2 separate regions of the Homo sapiens genome follow, and region 1 is linked to region 2. The links are contacts of gene promoters, found by promoter capture Hi-C in human tissues and cell types (Jung and others, 2019). All regions are on one chromosome and are shown on one strand. The core of a region is centred on a gene start or on the middle of the fragment in contact, and the rest is flanking DNA. Distances in the headings are between cores, read along the strand shown. Region 1 overlaps QRICH2 (glutamine rich 2). Region 2 holds the start of UNK (unk zinc finger).

Region 1 (7,292 bases), core at 1,363-3,862, 510 kb before region 2:
TGTCGGGGCAGGATGTCCATCTTAGAATCAGTGAATGTATTTTGAGTCCCAAATGGACTTCTTCATTTTTTTTGAGACAGAGTCTCTGTCGTCACCCAGGCTGGAGTGCAGTGGTGTGATCTCGGCTCACTGCAACCTTCCCCTCTGGGGCTCAAGCAATCCTCCTGCCTCAGCCTCCCCGGTAGTTGGGACCACAGGTGCGTACCACCATACCTAGCTAATTTTTGTATTTTTAGTAGAGACAAGGTGTTGTCATGTTGCCCAGGCTGGTCTCAAACTCCAGAGCTCAAGTGATCCACCCGCCTCGGCCTCCCAAAGGGCTGGGATTACAGGCATGAGCTACCGCCCTGGCCTATCATATATTTTGTTCAAGATTTTGGCTCATTTGTTGTAATGTTAGGGCATGTTAAAGAAAAAATATTTTTGAGACAGTCTTGCTCTGCTGCCCAGGCTGGAGTGCAGTGGTACCATAAGGGCTTACTGCAACCTCGACCTCCTGGACTCAAGTGATCCTCTCACCTCAGCCTCCTGAGTACCTGGGACTACAGGTGCATGCCACCACACCTGACTAATATTTTGCATTTTTGAGACAGAGTCTTGCTCTGTTGCCCAGGCTGGAGTGCAGTGGCATGATCTTGGCTCACTGCAACCTCCACCTCCCGAGCTCAAGTGATTCTCCTGCCTCAGCCTCCCGAGTAGCTGGGATTACAGGTGCCCACCACCACGCCCGGCTAATTTTTTTGTATTTTTAGTAAAGATGGGGTTTCACCGTGTTGGCCAGGCTGGTCTTAAACTCCTGACCTCGGGTGATCTGCCTGCCTTGGCCTCCCAAAGTGCTGGGATTACAGGCGTGAGCCACCATGCCTGGTCATATTTTGTATTTTGTAGAAAGGTTTTTGCCATGTTGCCCAGGCTGGTCTCAAACTCCTGGCCTCGAGCAGTCTGCCAGCCTTGGCCTCCCATAGTGCTGGGATTGAGCCACTGCACCCAGTCTCAATCCTGGCCCTCTACTCATGATGCAGGCACACCGCACAATTTCCATAAAGTCACCACTGTCTGCCAAAACCCATAATGGAGGTTAACACCCAGTTTCAAAATCTTTATTTTACGTTTATGCTAAAGGACTCTACCAACCATGCAGGCAGGTCAAATTGGTCTCAGGTCATATTTGTCTCAGGTGTGTTGTATGTGCTTACCTGGGGCTAGTGGCACTCCCCCACTGCTTTCATCCTGGTCTGTGCGAGGGCTGAAGTGGCCATTACCAGAGCTTGTTCTCTTGCTTCTCAACAATCTTTTAATATTTATATTTATCTTTATTTGCTTTTGGAGTTGTTCATAATTATGAGCAGTAATCAAACGCACATGCTTTCTTACCTCTGGAGAAGTAAAAATGTTTAAAGGTGTCTATGCTTATGTGTAAGTCTCATGGTGTCTGCCGCCATCACCCTGAGAAGATGTACTGCTCGGTAAAAACAGTACGATAGTGGCATGTGCAAAAAAGATTTGGCTTGGCCAGGTGCGGTGGCTCACGCCTGTAATTCCAGCACTTTGGGAGGCCGAGGCAGGCAGATCACAAGGTCAAGAGATCGAGACCATCCTGACCAACATGGTGAAACCCCGTCTCTACTAAAAATACAAAAAGTTAGCTGGGCGTGGTGGTGTGTGCCTGTAGTCCCAGCTATTCGGGAGGCTGAGGCAGGAGACTCGCTTGAAACCACCGGAAGGCGGAGGTTGCAGTGAGCCGAGATCGCATCACTGCACTCCAGCCTGGGCAACAAGAGCGAAACTCCGTCTCAAAAAAAAAAAAGGTTTGGCTTTAAAAAAGTGAAAGTGGAGGCCACTTTTTTCTAGTCCATTCCTTTTGTGTTCAGGGTCCTCTTGCAATATCGTTTAGTTTTGTTTTTTGAGACAGTCTTGCTTTGTCGCCCATGCTGGAGTGCAGTGGCGCAATCTTGGCTCACTGCAACGTTCACCTCCTGGGTTCAAATGATTCTCCTGCCTCAGTCTCCCGAGTAGCTGAGATTACAGGCGCCCACCATCACGCCCAGCTAATTTTTGTATTTTTACTAGGGACAGGGTTTCACCATGTTGTCCAGGCTGGGCTCGAACTTCTGACCTCAGGTGATCCGCCCGCCTCGGCTTCCCAAAGTGCTAGGATTACAGGCTGGAGCCACCGCGCCCGGCCCCTCTTGCAACATCTTTCTGATGCCGCTTTCCTCTGAGAATGAGCCCTGAAATCAGAAAATGGTCCTGGAGATCCCAGGTTGTCTTTTGTACCCAGATATTTGGCGCTCCCCAAGATGGCCACTTGGTGGCGCCAAAAGCTTTACTCTTCACCCTGCTTCCGTCTACATTTTCAAATGGCCCTCAAAGTTGGCTTGCTTGTTTTGATAACCCACTAGCCCAAAGCCAGCGGGAGGGATGTCAAGACCAAAAGGGAAGTTAAGCCTCATCTTTGAGGGCCATTTGAACATATTCAGCTTGATTTTATTCAGGTGAAGGTAGGTTGGCGATCGGAAAACAATTTGGTCATCTGTACACTGTCTCAAGACAGACAGATGCATGCCTGTGTGCAAAAGTTGCCATCAGCAGAGGGCCCCCTACAGAAGTTTTATTTCCAGGGTCTGTCACCATGGCCCACTAATAAGGAAAGATCCCTGCATTTCAGGACAGACTGTAAAGAAAGTTTGAAAAGCTACAAAAGCAAATAAAAACTACACTCAGGGCCGGGCGCTGTGGCTCACACCTATAATTCCAGCACTTTGGGAAGCCGAGGCAGACGGATCACTTGAGGTCGGGAATTTGAGACCAGCCTGACCAATATGGTGAAGCCCCATCTCTACTAAAAATATAAAAATTAGCCGGGCGTGGTGGCATGCGCCTGTAATCCCAGCTACTCGGGAGGCCGAGGCAGGAGAATCGCTTGAACCCGGGAGGCAGAGGTTGCAGTGAGCCGAGATCGCGCCACTGAACTCCAGCCTGGGCGACAGAGCGAGACTCTGTCTTAAAAAAAAGACAAAGAGGTCAGACATGGTTGCTCACGCCTTTAATTCCAGTACTTAAAGTCAAGGCGGGAGAAGTGCTTGAGGCCAGGAGTTTGAGACCAGCCTAGGCAACATATTAAGACCCCGTCTCTACAAAAAGTTTTTAAAAGGTCACGTGGCCGGGGGCAGTGGCTCATGCCTGTAATCCCAGCACTTTGGGAGGCTGAGGCGGGCGGATCACCAGGTCAGGAGATCAAGACCATCCTGGCTAACACGGTGAAACCCCGTCTCTACTAAAAATACAAAAAAATTATCCGGGCGTGGTGGTGGGCGCCTGTAGTCCCAGCTACTCGGGAGGCTGAGGCAGGAGAATGGCGCCGGGAGGTGGAGCTTGCAGTGAGCCGACATTGCACCACTGCACTCCAGCCTGGGTGACAGAGTGAGACTCCGTCTCAAAAAAAAAAAAAAAAAAAATTAGCCAGAAAGCCAGGCAGCGTGGCTCATGCCTGTAATCCCAGCACTTTGGGAGGCTGAGGTGGATGGATCACCTGAAGTCAGGAGTTCAAGACCAGCCTGGCCTACATGGTGAAACCCCATCTTTACTGAAAAATTCAAAAAATTAGCCGGGCATGGTGGTGCGTGCCTGTGATCCCATCTACTCAGGAGGCTGAGGCACTGGAAACTTGGAGGCGGAGGTTTCAGTGAGCTGAGATTGTGCCACTGCACTCCAGCCTGGGTGACACAGCAAGACTCTGTCTCAAAAAAAAAAAAAAAAAAAAAAAAAACAGATTCCTAAGTAGTCCTAGCTACTTGGGAGGCTGAAGGGGGAAGATTGCTTGAGCCCAGGAGTTAAAGGTTGCAGTGAGCTGTGATCATGCCACTGCACTCCAGACTGAGTGACAGAGTGAGACCCTGTCTCTAAAGTGTGTGCTTGTGTGTGTGTAGCCATAATAACTGTTTTAATATCCATCTCTGCTAATTCTAACACATATGCCAGTGTTGAGTTGGTCTCAGTTGGTTGAGTTATCTCCTCATTATGGGTCATGTCTTCCTGCCTCTTTGTATGCCTGGCAATCTTTGATCAGGTGCCAGCCATTGTGACTTTTCCTGCATTGGATGGTACATATTTTTGTATTTTTTTTTTCTTTTGAGATGGAGTCTTGCTGTGTCGCCCAGGCCGGAGTGCAGTGGCACAATCTCTGCTCACTGCAATCTCCGCCTCCTGGGTTCAAGCGATTCTCCTGCCTCAGCCTCCTGAGTAGCTGGGATTACAGGTGTGTGCCACCATGCCTGGCTAATTTTTGTATTTTTAGTAGAGACGGGGTTTCACCATGTTGGCCAGGCTGGTTCCGAACTCCTGCACTCAGGTGATCCTCCCGCGTTGGCCTCCCAAAGTGTTGGGATTACCGGTGTGGGACACCACACCCGGCCATATTTTTGTATTCTTATACATTTTATTGAGCCTGTTTCCCCCAGGACACAGCTACTTAAAAACAGTTTGATTGCTTCAGGCCTTGCTTTTATGATTTTATGATTTGTTAGGTGGGTCCATAGGTGTGTTCAGTCTAGGGCTGATTATTCTCCATTTCTGAGGCAACACTTTTCTGAGTACACTCTGCTCTGTGCTACTTGAATGATGAGTTTTTCCAAACTGGTTGATAAGAACAGGCACCATTTCCAGCCCCATGGCAGGCAGGGCACTGCTTCTTCAAGCCCTGCAGGTGGTTCTTTCCCCAATCTTGGGACGTCTCCCCACATGCATGTACTCATCAAATGCGTGCTCATCACTCGGAGGGGATCCTCCACAGACCTCTGGAGTGGGAGTGGGCTTTCTGTCATCTCCCTTCTTTCTGGTTATTTTTTTTTTTTTTTTTTTTTGAGACAGAGCCATGCTCTGTTGCCCAGGCCGGAGTGCAGTGGTGTGATCTCAGCTCACTGCAACCTCCGCCTCCTGGGTTCAAGTGATTCTCCTGCCTCAGCCTCCCAAGTAGCTGCGACTACAAGCATGTGCCACTGTGCCTGGCTAACTTTTGTATTTTTAGTAGAGATGGGGTTTCGCCTTGTTGGCCAGGCTGGTCTCAAACTGCTAACCTCGGGTAATCCACCCACTGAAAGTTCTGGGATTACAGGCATGAGCCACCACGCCTGGATAACTCCCTTCTTTCTGATACTCTATCCTGTGACCTTCAGTTGCCTGAATCTCCCTGAATGCTCACTTCTGTCTCCTCAACTCAGAGAGTCTGCCAGACTCCACCTCAATTCCCCCTCCCTGCACTGCAGTCTGGAAACTCCAGCAAGGCAGCAAGCCAGGGTGATACAGGCTTCCCAGTTTTCCTTTCTCCACCGCTTGGGGATTATTGTCCTTCATAACTTGATATCCAGTATGTAGGAAACCACCGTTTCATAGCTGTTGTTGGGTTTGTTTGTTTTTTTGAGATAGAGTCTCACTCTGTCTCCCAGGCTGGAGTGCAATGGTGCTATCTCGGCTCACTGCAACCTCCGACTTCTGGGTTCAAGCAATTCTCCTGCCTCAGCCTCCTAAGTAGCTGGGATTACAGGCATGTGCCACCACACCCAGCTAGTTTTTGTATTTTTAGTAGAGACGGGGTTTCACCATGTTGGTCAGGCTGGTCTTGAACTCCTGACCTCATGATCCACCCACATCGGACTCCCAAAGTGCTGGGATTACAGGCGTGAGCCACTGCGCCCAGCCTCAGTTTTGTTTTTTCTTGTCACAGACAGGAGGGTAAATCCAGCCCCTGTTAACTTCATCTTGGCTGGAAATGGCAGTGGTTCATTCTTCTTTTTCATGGATTCATAGCATCTACTGTATTGGTGACCAGAAATATCTCAGTCCCTTATTGATGATCTATTTTATCAAGATGCTGCAGACCCCATCATTGTATGTATAGCTTGGCATCCTTTGGTGAGGATTCATAGAGAAAATTCCTGTCTATGGAGTTTCTGGGTCCATGGGTTTGCATGTTTACATTTTATTTATTTATTTCTTTTTGAGATGGTGTCTCGCTCTGTTGCACAGGCTGGAGTGCAGTGGCGTGATCTCGGCTCACTGCATCCTCTGCCTTTTGGGTTCAAGTGATTCTCCTGAGTAGCTGGGATTACAGGTGTGCAGTACCACACCTGGCTAATATTTTATATTTTTAGTAGAGACCAGGTTTCACCATGTTGGCCAAGCTGGTCTTGAACTCCTGACCTCAAATGATCCACCTGCCTTGGTCTCCCAAAATGCTGGGATGACAGGCGTGAGCCACTGTGCCCAGCCTATACATTTTAAATATATGGTTTACATGCATTCCAGTATACACTTTTATCAGCAGCAATGGGTCAACAATGGAGCAAACTTTATATTTTATTTTATTTTATTTATTTATTTTTTGAGATGGAGTCTTGCTCTGTCACCCAGGCTGAAGTGCAGTGGTGCGATCTCAGCTCACTGTAACCTCTGCCTCCTGGGTTCAGGCGATTCTCATGACTTGTCCTCCCAAGTAGCTGGGACGACAGGCACGTGCCACCACACCCAGCTAATTTTATTTATTTATTTATTTATTTATTTATTTATTTGTTTTTAGTAGAGACGGGGTTTCATCATGTTGGCCAGGATGGTCTCAATCTCTTGACCTTGTGATCTGCCCACCTCGGCCTCCCAAAGTGCTGGGATTACAGGCATGAGCCACCGTGCCAGACCCAGACTTTATATTTTAAACTTAATAAATTACTTATGTCCTTTATTTAAAGGCTAAGCAAAAGTCCAGAGAGATCACTTGTATTTTGCAGTTTTCCCCATCTTTTATGAAGAAAAATTACACTTTTTTTTTTTTTTTTGAGAAGGAGTCTCACTCTGTCACCCAGGCTGGAGTGCAATGGTGCAATCTCGGCTCACTGCAACCTCCACCTCCCGGGTTCAAGCGATTCTCCTGCCTCAGTCTCCTGAGTAGCTGGGATTACAGGCATGCACTATCACACCCAGCTAATTTTTGTATTTTCAGTAGAGATGGGGTTTTGCCATGTTGGCCAGGCAGGTCTCAAAGTCCTGACCTCAAATGATCCACCCGCCTTGGCCTCCCAAAGTGCTGGGACTATAAGCATAAGCCACCGCACCTGGCCACAAAAATTACATATTTTTGTACATGCCATTTTCAAATATGCAGAGTCTCAAAAATATGGAGACCTAGCCTCCCAGAACGTCAGTGTGTTTCTTTTCCTTTTCTTTTTTTTGAGATGGAGTTTCACTCTTGTCACCCAGGCTGGAGCACAATGGCACAATCTCACGGCAACCTCCATCTCCCA
Region 2 (6,536 bases), core at 2,990-5,489:
AACTCTAAGAACTTTAATTTCAGCACAAGAATGAAGGGCAAGAAAGGGAAACCAATGGCAACATAATTTTTTGCTTTTAGTGTATTCAACTGTGTTTGCCAAGATTACTGTTATGGTGAGTGAGACTCAATTATCACACAAGTGTCTCTGGATTATTGCAAAGACTACAGCATGTTACCTAATTTCAAATAACATCAGGTATAAAACTATACAAAATTAATTAATGTATAAGAAAGTCCAGGTGAGGTGGCTCACACCTTCTCAGGCTCACGCCTTCCCATGCCACTGTACACCAGCCTGGGTGACAGAGCAAGATCCTGTCTCTTGCTCTGTCCAACCAACCTGGGTGACAAAAATAAATTTAAAAAAAAAATTAAAAATAAAAATAAAAGTGGCTGGGCGCGGTGGCTCACACCTGTAATCCCAGCACTTTGGGAGGCCGAGGCGGGCAGATCACGAGGTCAGGAGTTCAAGACCAGCCTGACCAACATGGTGAAACCCCATCTCTACTAAAAATACAACTAAATAAATAAATAAAAGTTTAAAAAGGTAAAAAATTTGACAGGCAGACGGGAACAGTGGCTCACGCCTGTAATCCCAGCAGTTTGGGAGGCCAAGGTGGGCGGATCACGAGGTTAGGAGTTCGAGATCAGCCTGGCCAACACAGTGAAACCCTGTCTCTACTAAAAATACAAAAATTAGCCAGCCATGGTGGCGTGTGCCTGCAGTCCCAGCTACTTAGGAAGCTGAAGCAGGAGAATTGCTTAAACCCGGGAGGTGGAGGTTGCAGTAAACTGAGATCACGCCACTGCACTCCAGCTTGGGCAACAGAGTGAGACTTTGTCTCCAAAAAAAAAAAAAAGAAAAAATTGACAGGCAAAAACTTACAAATATTCAAAAGGGGTCTATCTCTGTATTCAAAATGGGATCAATTATTATCAATGATCAATTATTATTCCACTCCGTATGTCCATGTGTACCCACTGTTTACCTCCCAAGCAGCTCAAATTTTCATTTAAAATCAAAATCAAAATGCTCCCGCCCCCTAACTCCCAAGGGCAATAAATGAATTCACCTTATGGGGGTGGAGGGAAGCAGGTATGGTGGTATGTGCCTGTAGTCCCAGCTACTCAGGAGGCTAAGGCAGGACTGCTTGAGCCCAGGAATTCAAGTCCACCTGGTTAACACAGAGAGATCACGTCTCTCTTTTTTTTTTTTTTTGGACCGAGTCTCACTCTGTCACCCAGGTTGGAGTGCAGTGGCACAATCTCTGCTCACTGCAACCTCTGCCTCCTGGGTTCAAGCGATTCTCCTGCCTCAGCCTCCTGAGTAGCTGGGACTGCAGGTGTGTGCCACCAGGCCTGACTAATTTTTTGTATTTTTAGTAGAGACGGGGTTTCCATGTTGGCCAGGTTGGTCTCGAACTCCTGACCTCAAGTGATCCACCCACCTCAGGCTCCCAAAGTGCTGGGATTACAGGTGTGAGCAACCGCACCCTGCCCATGTCTCTTTTAAGAAGAGGAAAAAAAAAAAAAAAGCTGGGTGTGGTGGCCTCCCAGCACTTTGGGAGGCCAAGGCCCAACAGTAGATTGCTTGCGCCTGCTCGATCACAGGAGTTCGAGACTAGGCTGGGCAACATGGCAAAATCACGTCTCTACAAAAAATACCAAAAAAATGTATCCAGGTGTGCCTGTAGTCCCAGCTACTCAGGAGACTGAGGTGGGAGGATCACTTGAGCCAGGGAGGTCGAGGCTACAGTGAGCTGAGATGGTGACACTGCACTATAGCCTGGATGACAGAGACCCTATCTTAAAAAAAAGAAAAAGAAAAATCAGAGCCAGCAAGTGTGCTGGTTCCATCATATGTGTCCTCATGCTCCCTGCACCTCAGCCCTAGGAGGACTAGGGGATGAAGTTTTCCAGGTCATCACAGCTTCTGAATGCTAGTAAGTCTAGCAAGAAAGACCACTGATTTCTATCTCTGATTTTTGGAAATACAAATATAAAAACACACATACATATGAACAGACAAAGAGATAAGAACACCTACAACCTCCCATCAAGCTTGGCTATTTCACCTACTCCTGTTGATTTCCTAAGACACCTCAAGAGCCAGGTCCCATTACTCTATACTTACCCACAAGGAATGGAAAGGCAGGCTTTTTTTTTGTTTTTGTTTCTGTTTTTTGAGACGGAGTTTTGCTCTTGTCGCTCAGGCTGGAGTGCAGTGGCACGATCTCGGCTCACTGCCACCTCCGCCTCCCGGGTTCAAGCGATTCTCCTGCCTCAGCCTCCTGAGTAGCTGGGATTACAGGCGCCCGCCAGCACACCCAGCTAATTTTTTGTATTTTTAGTAGAGACGGGGTTTTGCCATATTGGGCAGGCTGGTCTCTTCACTCCTGACCTCATGCGATCCGCCTCGGCCTCCCAAAATGCTGTGATTACAGGCGTGAGAGCTACCACGCCCGGCAGGAAAGACAGGTTTTAAACAAATGAGCATCAAGAGGACAAAGACTCAGATACTGACATTTAATCAGCTGTTCACTTGTTTCACCTGTCAATTCCAAAATAAGAAAGCCTTTCTATTACAGATTCCATAGTATGCTCAATGACAACACAACACAGAAACACAAGTTGCTGAAGCCAAGACTCTCGTGACTCAAAATGTGTTTATTTTGCTAAAAACAGTGATCTGAGCAACCAGAGATTATAAAGAAGTTCCAATTACGTGAAGTTTCCAGATTCGAAAATCAAGACTACACCATTCAACTCATCAGTAGTCTTTGAGCTAAGAACATCTCACCAAAATCAATGGAAAGACTGCGAAAGATCTCCAGTAAGAAAGGACCAGGAAAGCAATGTCCATATCAGAAAAGGAATGGTTAACGTGAGTCAGACTGTAGTCAAGAAGCTTAAATGATTTCAGCCAACAACAAAGAATCCCACAAAGAAACCATACACTTCCTATAACCAATGTTCCCCAACCCCAGAACAGTTTCCCAAGGTCTTCTATAACAAGAGTTCCTCCTGACTGGTTTGAGTTCTTTCTACTCCAACAGATGATTCTGTTCTTCGTTCACTGAACAACTTAAGAGCTGTTCAACCCCCCAGGTTCCAAAACCTCTCGCAGCTGGGGATCCTTTTAAACATGCACATCACTCAGGAGCCCATGGGGATGAGAGGCATTCACAGAGCATCAGGGAAAATGGAAAGCAACATTTTGCTTAACAGGAGAAACCGCCCCTTATTCATCTTTCTCCCACATCACCTAACTCTAGGGAATGCTTAACGTGGCTTGAAGGAAATGAAGACAGCGACCTAAAAGCACACAGATGCAAGACTTCCAGGAAGAGGTTTTCCCATCCTGCTGGACTCCTGTAGTGTCAGTATTTGGGGCTCCCTCTAATGCTACATTTCTGCTGAGCCTGCAGACATACTTGGAACCCATCACCTTCGGGCTCCCAGACTCAGGCTCCGCACAGCCCGCGAGGGAAACGGTCATGGGCACGCACGGACACGTTTCCATCTTTGCATGTTTATCTACGTCGACTGTGAATTCAAGCAAGTGTGGCCCTCGTGGACAACCTACGAGCCTTAGGGACACAAAAGGCTTCCTGCGCAAACTGCACGGAATCTCCTGACAGGACTTCACGTTAATCATCATTCATAGGTGGGTTCTGGGGCTGGACCCCACGGAACTCCTCTTGGTTGTGTCTTGGACTTCTCACTGCCCCAAAGGAGCCTACTACTGTGGTTTTATGGTCTGAGGAACAGTTAGGCCTCGAAGGCCTGGCCTAGGGAGAGTGCACTCTGCATCCCGAGCTCCCGCCTTCCCCACTCGGCGGCCGGGACCGAGTTTCCCGCCCCACAGCCCGACCAGAGGTTGGTGGCAGTTGGAGGCAGTTGGGACCGGCCCCAGCAGGTTGGAACCGGTCTGGGCCGGGCCGGAGGAGGAAGGGGGGGAGGAAGAGGCCGCCTCGCGCTCTCCCTGCGCGCGTGACTCACGCTGGCCGCTGACGTCAGGCGTGCGCGCGCGGCGGGGGGGGGGGGGCTCTACGTACGTGTAGTGCTGCGGTTTCTCGGGCTGTGCCTGCAGCACCTGAGCGGTAGCGGCCGGGGGCGCCGAGGAAGCTGCGGAGCCGCCGGGCCCGGGGCCCTTCGACATGGTCTTGTCTTCCTGCCTCTTCGCCGCTCCCCTTTTATTATTCAGTCTGCGCGGTCCGCGCCGAGGACCCAGTGCGCCTGCGCCGCGCCACGAGAACGTGAAGACCCCCCACACGGCAGCAGGGGTTGCTGGGAGTTGTGGTTCTATGTCCGGCTGGAATTTTACCGTCGGCAGAGGGTTGCTGGCAAAGCACAGGACCACAATACCCAGGGATCCTTGCTGCTAGTGTCCCGGATGCTGAGGGCCTGCGACGGCTTCTGGGAATTGCAGTCCGGTCGCATTTCTCCTTCTTACCAGCGCGTTTTCAGTTTCATAGGGAAGCCTTTCCATGAAACTGGAGCGCCTGGAGGAGAAGGGGCCCAGAGCTAGGGAGGCCCTAGCGATTTCTGCGAAAGAGTTCCAAGTATAATTTCACTGCCAACAGTGTCATAACTACTTTGCCTTTATACTTAGTACAGCTAGGTTCGGTTCTAATGCCAGCTCAGAGCAGTGCTCCAAGCAGGGCTTAAGAATCTGTGTTGTCGGTTCTTAGTTCTGGGCCCTGTGCTGCAGGCACCTGCAATCCGCCAGCAACCCCTTCATCCCTGCGGCGGGTCTAACCTAAGAGGCATTGAGAAAGCTTTGCTAAGGAGGAGGTACACCGCACGCTACAGTTCCCGCGCCTTTGCCGAGGCGCTTCATTTACCTTTGCCAAACTCGACACCTGGAACTCCACGACTTGTGTGCTTTCTCAGCCTGACACCTGGCCTGACCAACTTGTTTCCAGTACATTAAGGGCCAAGGACGAATTTAATCTCCGCCTAGAATAGTCTCTGAGGTACACTGACAAGTTGCCAGTGTTGAGAAGCATCACAGGGTCCAGAGGAAAGGCCTGGGTTTGAGTAGGGCGTGCCCGTATTTATCCACTCTAGTTTTCTTGTCTGGACGTCAGCCTTTTTACTTGGGACATTATCTTTCCCCTCTCTGCTTCCCACCAGTCAAGCAAAGTTCTTCACTTTATAAAATAAGCCAGATGCCCCAGACCTAGGCATTTGTTTCTGTGAGTTTTAGAATGTTCTCCGTAGATATTTTAACCGTTGTCATTTAATTTGGTTTTTCATATTGAATCTATTTCAAATCCACTGGTTTTGATTTATATTTTCTTAGATGGGATTATATTAACAAATGATTATCTCATTAAAGAAACACATTCCAAATAACCTTAGGGATGAAGGGTGGTGGGGCTAATGGAAAATCGTTAATGTTTGAGTGACACATACTTATTTTATTTAGCTCCAAGTTCCCTCACATCAGAAGCCACATCACAGAGTTGAGAAACTGGTTTTTCCTAAACAGGCTAAATCGTTTAGCCACTAGGGGCGTTTGAAAATGAAAAATTACAAAAGGACAAATAAAAGTTGTAGTATATTGCTTTAATCCTATGATTAAACGCAAGTTACTTGGTTTATGTTAGCCTCACAATACTCAAGTGTGATCTGACTGAAGAAATAGAGTTCACAGCACTGGATTTTAAATAATAGATGTATATCATGAGCTTCAGAATAAGTGTGTACTGGTGGAGTTGGGAGATGATATCATCCAAACTGCTTAATTTACAAAAGAGGAAACCGAAACCCAGAGAAGCTAAGTAACTTGCACAAAGTTACTCAGCAAGTTGGTAACAAGAGGAACTAGGACAGTAGCCTACAAGACTACATCACATTCACTGTTGGGTTTTGTTTGTTTTGTTTTCTTCTGCTTTTTTTCATTGTATAAACATTTTTTATTCTTCCTCATTTCCTGTGTTGCTTTTCCTCCGTTGTACCAATCTGGAAAAAGTGAAACATACCTGCATGACTACGAAGTAAGAGAGACAGCCTTTTTTTTTTTTTTTTTTTTTTTTTTTTGAGGCAGAGTCTTGCTCTGTTGCCCAGGCTGGAGTGCAGTGGTGTGATTTCGGCTCACTGCAACCTCTGCCTCCCAGGTTCAAGCAATTCTCCTGCCTCAGCCTCCTGAGTAGCTGGGATTACAGGTGTGTGCCACCACGCCCACCTGATTTTTGTAGTTTTAGTAGAGACGTGGTTTCACCATGTTGGTCAGGCTGGTCTCGAACTCCTGACCTCACGATCCACCCTCCTCAGCCTCCCAAGAGCTGGGATTACAGGCGTGAGCCACTGCGCCCGGACTCCTGTTTCCACGAATCATACTTAAATGGATAAATGTATATCCATACCTTTTTTCTCCGGGTGGCTTTAGTTTCTAATAATCAGCAAAGCTGGAAAGAAAATGACTGTCCATCCACACAAAGGCATGGAAATGACAGGATTCTGTATAACCTAGAAAAATCGTGAAACACAGCAGGGAGTGGTGGCTGAAGCCTGTAATCCCAGCAC

The links. The method cuts DNA at HindIII sites, captures the fragments that hold promoters and counts their contacts. A contact is called where the count stands out against the background at its distance.
Region 1: a fragment that was not itself captured here is called in contact with the fragment with the promoter of UNK in region 2 in 1 of the 25 tissues and cell types used here (hippocampus).

The regions. Positions count from the first base shown.
Region 1 is chr17:76,294,348-76,301,639 of GRCh38, reverse strand. All of the region lies in intron 3 of QRICH2 (glutamine rich 2), which reads left to right. Among named protein-coding and RNA genes, the nearest start is that of QRICH2, 10 kb to the left of the region's middle. The HindIII fragment of the contact is 4,582 bases long and covers 322-4,903 here.
Region 2 is chr17:75,782,509-75,789,044 of GRCh38, reverse strand. It overlaps UNK (unk zinc finger), which reads right to left and starts at 4,239. Exons shown (of 16, transcript NM_001080419.3): 1 at 4,061-4,239. The coding sequence starts at 4,164. It overlaps MIR4738 (microRNA 4738), which reads left to right and starts at 4,438; the gene lies at 4,438-4,524. RefSeq lists enhancers at 2,989-3,566, 3,578-3,977, 3,567-4,145, 5,708-5,887 and a silencer at 4,038-4,177. The HindIII fragment of the contact is 5,813 bases long and covers 2,488-6,536 here.